Regions from separate parts of the Homo sapiens genome. Here region 2 is linked to region 1. The links are contacts of gene promoters, found by promoter capture Hi-C in human tissues and cell types (Jung and others, 2019). All regions are on one chromosome and are shown on one strand. Each heading gives the region's core, a stretch centred on a gene start or on the middle of the fragment in contact. The rest is flanking DNA. Distances are from core to core; before and after follow the strand shown. Region 1 holds the start of SMU1 (SMU1 DNA replication regulator and spliceosomal factor). Region 2 has its middle 7.6 kb from the start of ACO1.

What was found. Contacts are between HindIII fragments. The study calls those that stand out against the background at their distance.
Region 2: a fragment that was not itself captured here is called in contact with the fragment with the promoter of SMU1 in region 1 in 1 of the 25 tissues and cell types used here (dorsolateral prefrontal cortex).

The regions. Positions count from the first base shown.
Region 1 is chr9:33,074,790-33,078,241 of GRCh38, reverse strand. SMU1 (SMU1 DNA replication regulator and spliceosomal factor) reads left to right here and starts at 1,568. Exons shown (of 12, transcript NM_018225.3): 1 at 1,568-1,659. The coding sequence starts at 1,634. RefSeq lists enhancers at 1,187-1,386, 1,557-1,706. The HindIII fragment of the contact is 9,509 bases long and covers 1-3,452 here.
Region 2 is chr9:32,375,338-32,378,789 of GRCh38, reverse strand. No RefSeq gene overlaps it. Among named protein-coding and RNA genes, the nearest start is that of ACO1, 7.6 kb to the left of the region's middle. The HindIII fragment of the contact is 4,774 bases long and covers 1-3,452 here.

The DNA of each region.
Region 1 (3,452 bases), core at 319-2,818:
TAATGTGTTTGACCTAAAGTCCCGTGACAGGGCGTGGTGGCTCATGCCAGTAATCCCAGCACTTTGGGTGGCTGAGGTGGGAGGATTGCTTGAGCTGGAGGGGTCGAGGCTGCAGTGTGCCACGATCGAGACACTGCACTCCAGCATGGGCAACAAAGCGAGTCCTTGATTCAAAAAAACGCAAAACCAACCAACCAACCAAAATCCTCAATTAACTCTTCCTATAAATTTTGGCTAGTGTTATGTTGGTTTTGAATGTATTAATATCCCATCAGGTATTGCATATTCAGCCTCATCTTAAATCTAATCAACTAATTACATCAAACGAAAGCAACATTGGCTGGGCGCAGTGACTCACGCCTGTAATCCCAGCACTTTGGGAGACCGAGGCGGGCGGATCACGAGGTCAGGAGTTCGAGAACAGCCTGACCAACATAGTGAAATCCCATCTCTACTAAAAATACAAAAAATTAGCCTGGCGTGATGGCAAGAAACCTGTAATCCCAGCTACTCCGGAGGCTGAGGCAAGAGAATCTCCTGAACCCGGGAGGCAGAGTTTGCAGTGAGCCGAGATCGCGCCATTGTGCTCTTCAGCCCGGGCGACAGTGCGAGATTCCGTCTCAAAAAAAAAGCAATCTTTCCAAACCAGTGCTCTTTCTTTTCTTTCTTTTCTTTTCTTTCTTTTCTTCTTTCTTTTCTTTGCTTTTCTTACTACAATCTTATCACCACTACTTTTCTTTTCTTCTTTTGAGACGGAATTTTGCTCTCCTTGCCCAGGCTGGAGTGCAATGGTGTGATCTCGGCTCACCGCATCCACCTCCAGAGGTGAAACGATTCTCCTGCCACAGACTCCCGAGTAGCTGAGATTACAGGCGCCCCCGCCACCACGCCCGGCTAATTTTTTGTATTTTTAGTAGAGACGGGGCTTCACCATGTTGCCCAGGCTGGTCTCGAACTCGCGCGCTGGGAGTACAGGCGCGAGCCACCGCGCTCCGCCCCAGCGCTTTTCTTTTTCAGTACATTTGTGAGCTGTATGGCGCCCGGTGCTTTTTTTCTTTTTCTTTTCTATCTTTCTTTTTTTTTTTTTTTTTTTTTTGAGACGGAGTTGCGCTCTTGTTTTCCATGCTGGGGTGCAATGGCGCGATCTCGGCTCACCGCAACCTCCGCCTCCTGGGTTCAAGCGATTCTCCTGCCTCAGGCTCCCGAGTAGGGATTACAGGCATGCGCCACTACGCCCGGCTAATTTTGTATTTTTAGTAGAGACGGGGGTTTCTCCATGTTGGTCAGGCTGGTCTCGAACTCACGACCTCAGGTGATCGCCCGCCTCGGCCTTCCAAAGTGTTGGGATTACAAGCGTGAGCCACCGCACCCGGCTCCGGCCTGCTTTTAAACAGTCTTCCTCCTGATGCGTATTTCTCTGGGGCAGGGGCATAAACTCCGCCCTCTGACAGCCCCTGAGGGCTCCGCCCCTACGCGAACCTCGCCCCTACTCTTCGTTCACTCTATCTCCAGAGCGGGAGCCAGACGCCGACCCAAGCGGAAGTGACGTTAGGTGTCCGCCGGAGGTGTCGTTGGTGTGTTGCGCGACTGGCCTTGAGGGAGAGCTGGGGCCTGCTCCCGGAGAGATACGGCTATGTCGATCGAAATCGAATCTTCGGAGTGAGTCCTGCGGTGGGGATGTTCGCGCCTTGCCGGGGGCCTGGAGGTTAAGGGTGTGGGGCGGAGGGTACTCGGGAGAAGGCATCCGAGAGGCCAGGGAGTGGAGGGCCATTTCCTTGCCCCCAAAGAAGCATCTTGGATCTCGCTACCTCGGAGGTGGGCCCACAGGAAAGTAGCAGCTCTCAGACGTGAAGCCCAAAACCTCGAGGGAGGTGGCACGGGTGGGGAAAACACACCTTGCAGACCTAAGTTCTGTCCTTGGCCGACTGCTGGCGCGCTGTGATTGACCAAATTAAGGATCCACTCTGGACTCCAGTCTAATTATCTGCGCAAGGGGATAGGTCTCTTTAAGCCTTGCTTCTCTCCCTGTCCAGCTTATGCAATGTGATTCGTTGTCTCTGCTTATACGGCCCCTTTGCTTTTCTCTGCCTAGCGTTTATCACTCAGTATTGTCACTGTTTGATAACCTCACCCCAAACTAGCCTTTGTCGGTGCCTAGGAGCTCCTTTTCCTTGTGGTCTCAGTGTCTAGCATACCTTAGAGGAAGAGTTAATTGCTTTTGGAATGAATGAACAACTAGCTTTTGGAATGAATGAACAACTATCAGGCCCGATCTGGCACGGAATTTTGGGTTGTCTGGGGAGAGACAGACTGGAGACTGGGCTAGAAAGAAAAATTTTCAAGGAATAGGGGATGAGAATTAGTGACTAAAGAAGACCTTAGTGTGCTTTTCCAGAACTCCATCCTCCACCTGTCCTTGCCAACACTTAATAATAATTAAATTAACAGACATAAAAATTGTGTCTGAGTGTAAGGGAGGGAGAGGACCTTTTTTGGAGACTTTTCATAGGAGGAAGGGAGGTTTATGCATTCAGCAAATACTGAAATGATGTTAACCTACTTGTCCAAGGTCACATAACTTTGATTCAAATCCCAGACTATCTTCAAAGCTTCTAGCTCTTTATGTATTCATTTCTGTTTGAAGGTAGGGAATTTGATTTTGGCTATGTCAAATGTGAGCTGTTTGAGGAGAGAGATGACTTATTTTGGGAGTGTAAAATGGAAGTCAACGGACATGTGCTAAGGAAGATAGTATCATAGCAGAATAACAGGGGTCTAAGTCTGGATACCTGCATACCTCATAAAGGGGCCATGAGAGAAAAAGACTACTGCAGGTAGCAGCAATCAGTTCCCTTTTTTTTTTTTGAGACGGAGTCTCACTCTGTCACCCAGGCTGGAATGCAGTGGCGCGATCTCCGCTCACTGCAAGCACCGCCTCCCACGTTCACGCCATTCTCCTGCCTCAGCCTCCCGAGTAGCTGGGACTACAGGCGCCCACCACCATGCCCGGCTAATTTTTTTGTATTTTTAGTAGAGACGGGGTTTCACCGTGTTAGCCAGGATGGTCTCGATCTCCTGACCTTGTGATCTGCCCGCCTCGGCCTTCCAAAGTGGTGAGATTACAGGCGTGAGCCACCGCGGCCGGCCTATAGTTGTTTTTAAGAAGAGGGGCCAGGTGCGGTGGCTCACACCTGTCATCTCAACACTTTGGGAAGCTGAGGTGGATGGATCACTTGAGCCCAGAAGTTTGAGACCAGCATGGTCAACATGGCAAAACCACGTCTCTACAAAAAATACAACAATTAGCCAGTGTGGTGGTGCATGCCTGTGGTCTCAGCTACTCGGGAGGCTGAGGTGAGAGGATCACCTGATCCCAGGAGGCCCAGGCTGCAGTCAGCCACAATCACGCCACTATTCTGTCCAGCCTGAGCGATGCAAGTGACCATTTCTCA
Region 2 (3,452 bases), core at 334-2,833, 700 kb after region 1:
ACAGACGACACAGAAAGATACATTTGTCTGTTACAAGTCCATCCTTGAAAGTACCATGCAGGCTAACTAAACCAATGATGGTGAGCTACTGCCCTCTGTTGATGAGTATGTGGCAAACACATTGCTAGCCGTAAAAAGCTGAGAGGATGGTTAGCATTAGGAGAATCAATAATTGGGTGACAGAGAGTGAGACCTTGTCTCAAGAAAAGACAGAATAAGTATTAAGAAGAAAACATTTTCTACTGGTGATAAATATTCTCAGGCTTCATTTGTTGTGAAATGTCTTTATTTTACTGTCTTTATTTTTTATTTATTTATTTTTGAGACGAGTCTCGCTCTGTTGCCCAGGCAAAAGAGTGCAATCTGGGCTAACTGCAACCTCTGCCTCTGGGTTCAAGTGATTCTCGTGCCTCAGCCTCCCGAGTAGCTGGGACCATCGGCGCCCACCACCATGCCCAACTAATTTTTGTATTTTTAGTGGAGACGGGGTTTCACCGTGTTGGCCAGGCTGTCTCGAACTCCTGACCTCAGGTGATCCACCTGCCTCGGCCTCCCAAAGTGCTAGGGCCCTCACTCTGTCACCCAGGCTGTAAGGCAGTGGCACGAACACAGTCCATTGCCACCTTGACTTCCCAGGGTCAGGCAATCCTTCCACCTCAGCCTCCTGAATAGCTGGGACTACAGGCATGCACTACCATGCCTGAATAATTTTTAATTTTTTTTATAGAGACAGGGTCTTACTATATTGTCCAGGCTGGTCTGGAACTCCTGAGCTCAAGCGATCCTCCGGCCTCAGCCTCCTAGAGTGCTGGGATTATAGGCATGAGCCACCGTGCCCAGCCTACTGTCTTTGTTGAATAACATTTTTTCTGGATATTAAATATTGGATTGGCAGTTATTTTTTTCCAGCATTTAAAAGTATCAGTCCAGGCCAGTCACGGTGGCTCATGTGTATAATCCCAGCACTTTGGGAAGCTGAGGTGGGAAGATCACTTGAGCCCAGGAGTTCCAGGCAAGCCTGGGCAACATGGTGAGACTCTATCTCTAAAAATTTTTTTTAAAAAATTAGCCAGGCGTGGTGGGATGTGCACAGTCTCAGCTACTCAGGAGGCTGAGGTGAGAGAATCTCTTGAACCTAGAAGATCGAGGCTGCAGTGATCCCTGTTCTTGCTTGCCACTTGCACTCCGCCTGAGTGACAGAATGAGACTCTACCTGAAAAAAACAACAACAAAAAAATCAAGCCATGTCTTCTGGCTTTGCTAGCTTTTGTTGGAAAGTTCATTGTCAGTCTAAATCTTCCTGTTCTCAAAGTAATGTTTCTTTTCTCTGGCTACTTTTACAATCTTCTATTGTCTTTTGTTTTCACCAGTTTGAGTTTTCTATACTTTTATTCTTTTCTGAGATTCATAGGACTTTCTGAATCTATAGCTTAATGTATTTCAGCATTGTTGCAAAAAAATTAATTATTGTCTTTTAAATGTTGCTTCTGTCCTATTCTCTGTCTCTTTTCCTTTTGGAATTATAATTTCACATATGTTAGACTGTCTTACTATAACCTTTATGTCTCCTATGTTTTCCATTCTTTAGTCTCTGTCATTCATTCTGGGTATTTCTTGTTGACATGTCTTTTTGTTACTATAAAAGCAGTGGATTCTCCAATCTCACTTTTCCTCATCTACAAAGCAGATTCACTATGCTAAGCATTCCATCTGGGCCCCTGCCTATTTCGTCTGTGGGATTTAGTGGCAAGGGGAACTAATGCAATCTTATTTTCATGCTACTTGTTACGCATGTAGTGAAGTACTTTATCTCTGACCCAAGAGCCTCATGTCTTCTGCCAACATCCATGAAGCAATAACAGGCTAAGTTACTAGCTTGTATATAGGGTAAAATCCCAGACCCTGACAGTTTGGGTGACAAGATAGGGTGCTGGCTGAGGTGTGCCTTTCTGGAAGACCCCATGGGCTGTGTTAGTAGGACCCAGTAGCAAATGCCCTCACCAAAGTGGGGAGCAAGGGGGAAAGTACATTTCTCTCACTCTCCTGCCTGTTAATGAATGTTTACAGGCTAAGCAAGAGGCAAGGTTGAAACAATCTTCCCAAATGGTACTTTGATTGTGCTCACTCTCCTCAGGAACAGGAAGAAGGGACTTTATATGACAATTAGGCCGCAAAAGTGGGGAAGCCAAAAGTGGCTGTATCTGATTGGTCAAGGAGTCCCCCCAAAGCTTAAATAATGATGTCATCTGTAAGTAGATACAGCTTCAGGTGGACCAAAGCCAGATGTTCACTTGAATGAGCCCAACCTGCTGGTAGCTGCTTGAAATGGAAAGCTGATGCAAACTGGCTTACTGGCCTGAAACTGCTCTTTCCCTCTGCACTTCCTGACCCTTCCTTTCCCCTGTACCCCAGCCTCAACTGCTTTAAGGAAAATGCTGAGTATGCGGGGGAACTGAAAGGAGGGGAGGAACTCAAATATTTTTAGCTCTGTTGAATATAGGTGCCCAAGTCATAATCCTTCCCAGTCTCATGAATGGAGAGGGTGCTGGGCACAAGGATATCTAAAGGTACTGAGGATTGTAGGGTGCAAGGGAATTTACCCTGAGCCTGGTTGGGAGAGACAAAGGATAAGAAAAGCCATCTTCTCCCCTCATCTGCATCCCCCTTCCAGCAGCTATTGTTACAGTCCTGTTATGCCTGTTAGACTTCTTGGTCCATATTTCTATAGGGCAGTGTTTTTCAACCAGGGTCATTTTGTCCTCTCCTCCCACCCAGGGGACATGTGACAATGTCTGGAGACTTTTTTTTTTTTTTTTTTTGAGACAGAGTTTCATTCTTGTCGCCCAGGCTGGAGTGCAATGGCACGATCTTGGCACACTGCAACCTCCACCTCCTGGGTTCAAGTGATTCTCCTGCCTCAGCCTCCCAAGTAGCTGGGATTATAGGCACCAGCCACCATGCCCAGCTAATTTTTGTTATATAATTATTATTATTTTTTTAGTAGAGATGGGGTTTCTCCATGTCGGCCAGGCTGTTCTCGAACTCCTGACCTCAGGTAATCTGCCTGCCTTGGCCTCCCAAAGTGTTGGGATTACAGGCGTGAGCCACTGTGGTGGGCCTGGAGACATTTTTGATAGTCACAACTGAGCCGGGGGACGATGTGGGGGGTGTTCTACTGGCATCTAGTTGGTAAAGCAGGGATACTGCTAAGTTTCCTACAGTGCTTGGGAACCCCCAGACAAAGAATTAACCACTCCTAAATGTCAAGAATGAACCTCTGCCATGGGGGAAAATGTGCTCCAAATTCAACTGATGGGGTTTGGGCAACATTTTTTCCATGTGGGAGGAAAATTAACGTGACCTTGTAGGACCTTTAGGGCCAATCCAACGTACTGTTTGCTGTGTCTTTCACTGATGAATGTATAATTGGTGTTCATGTTGTACGTGCTTGT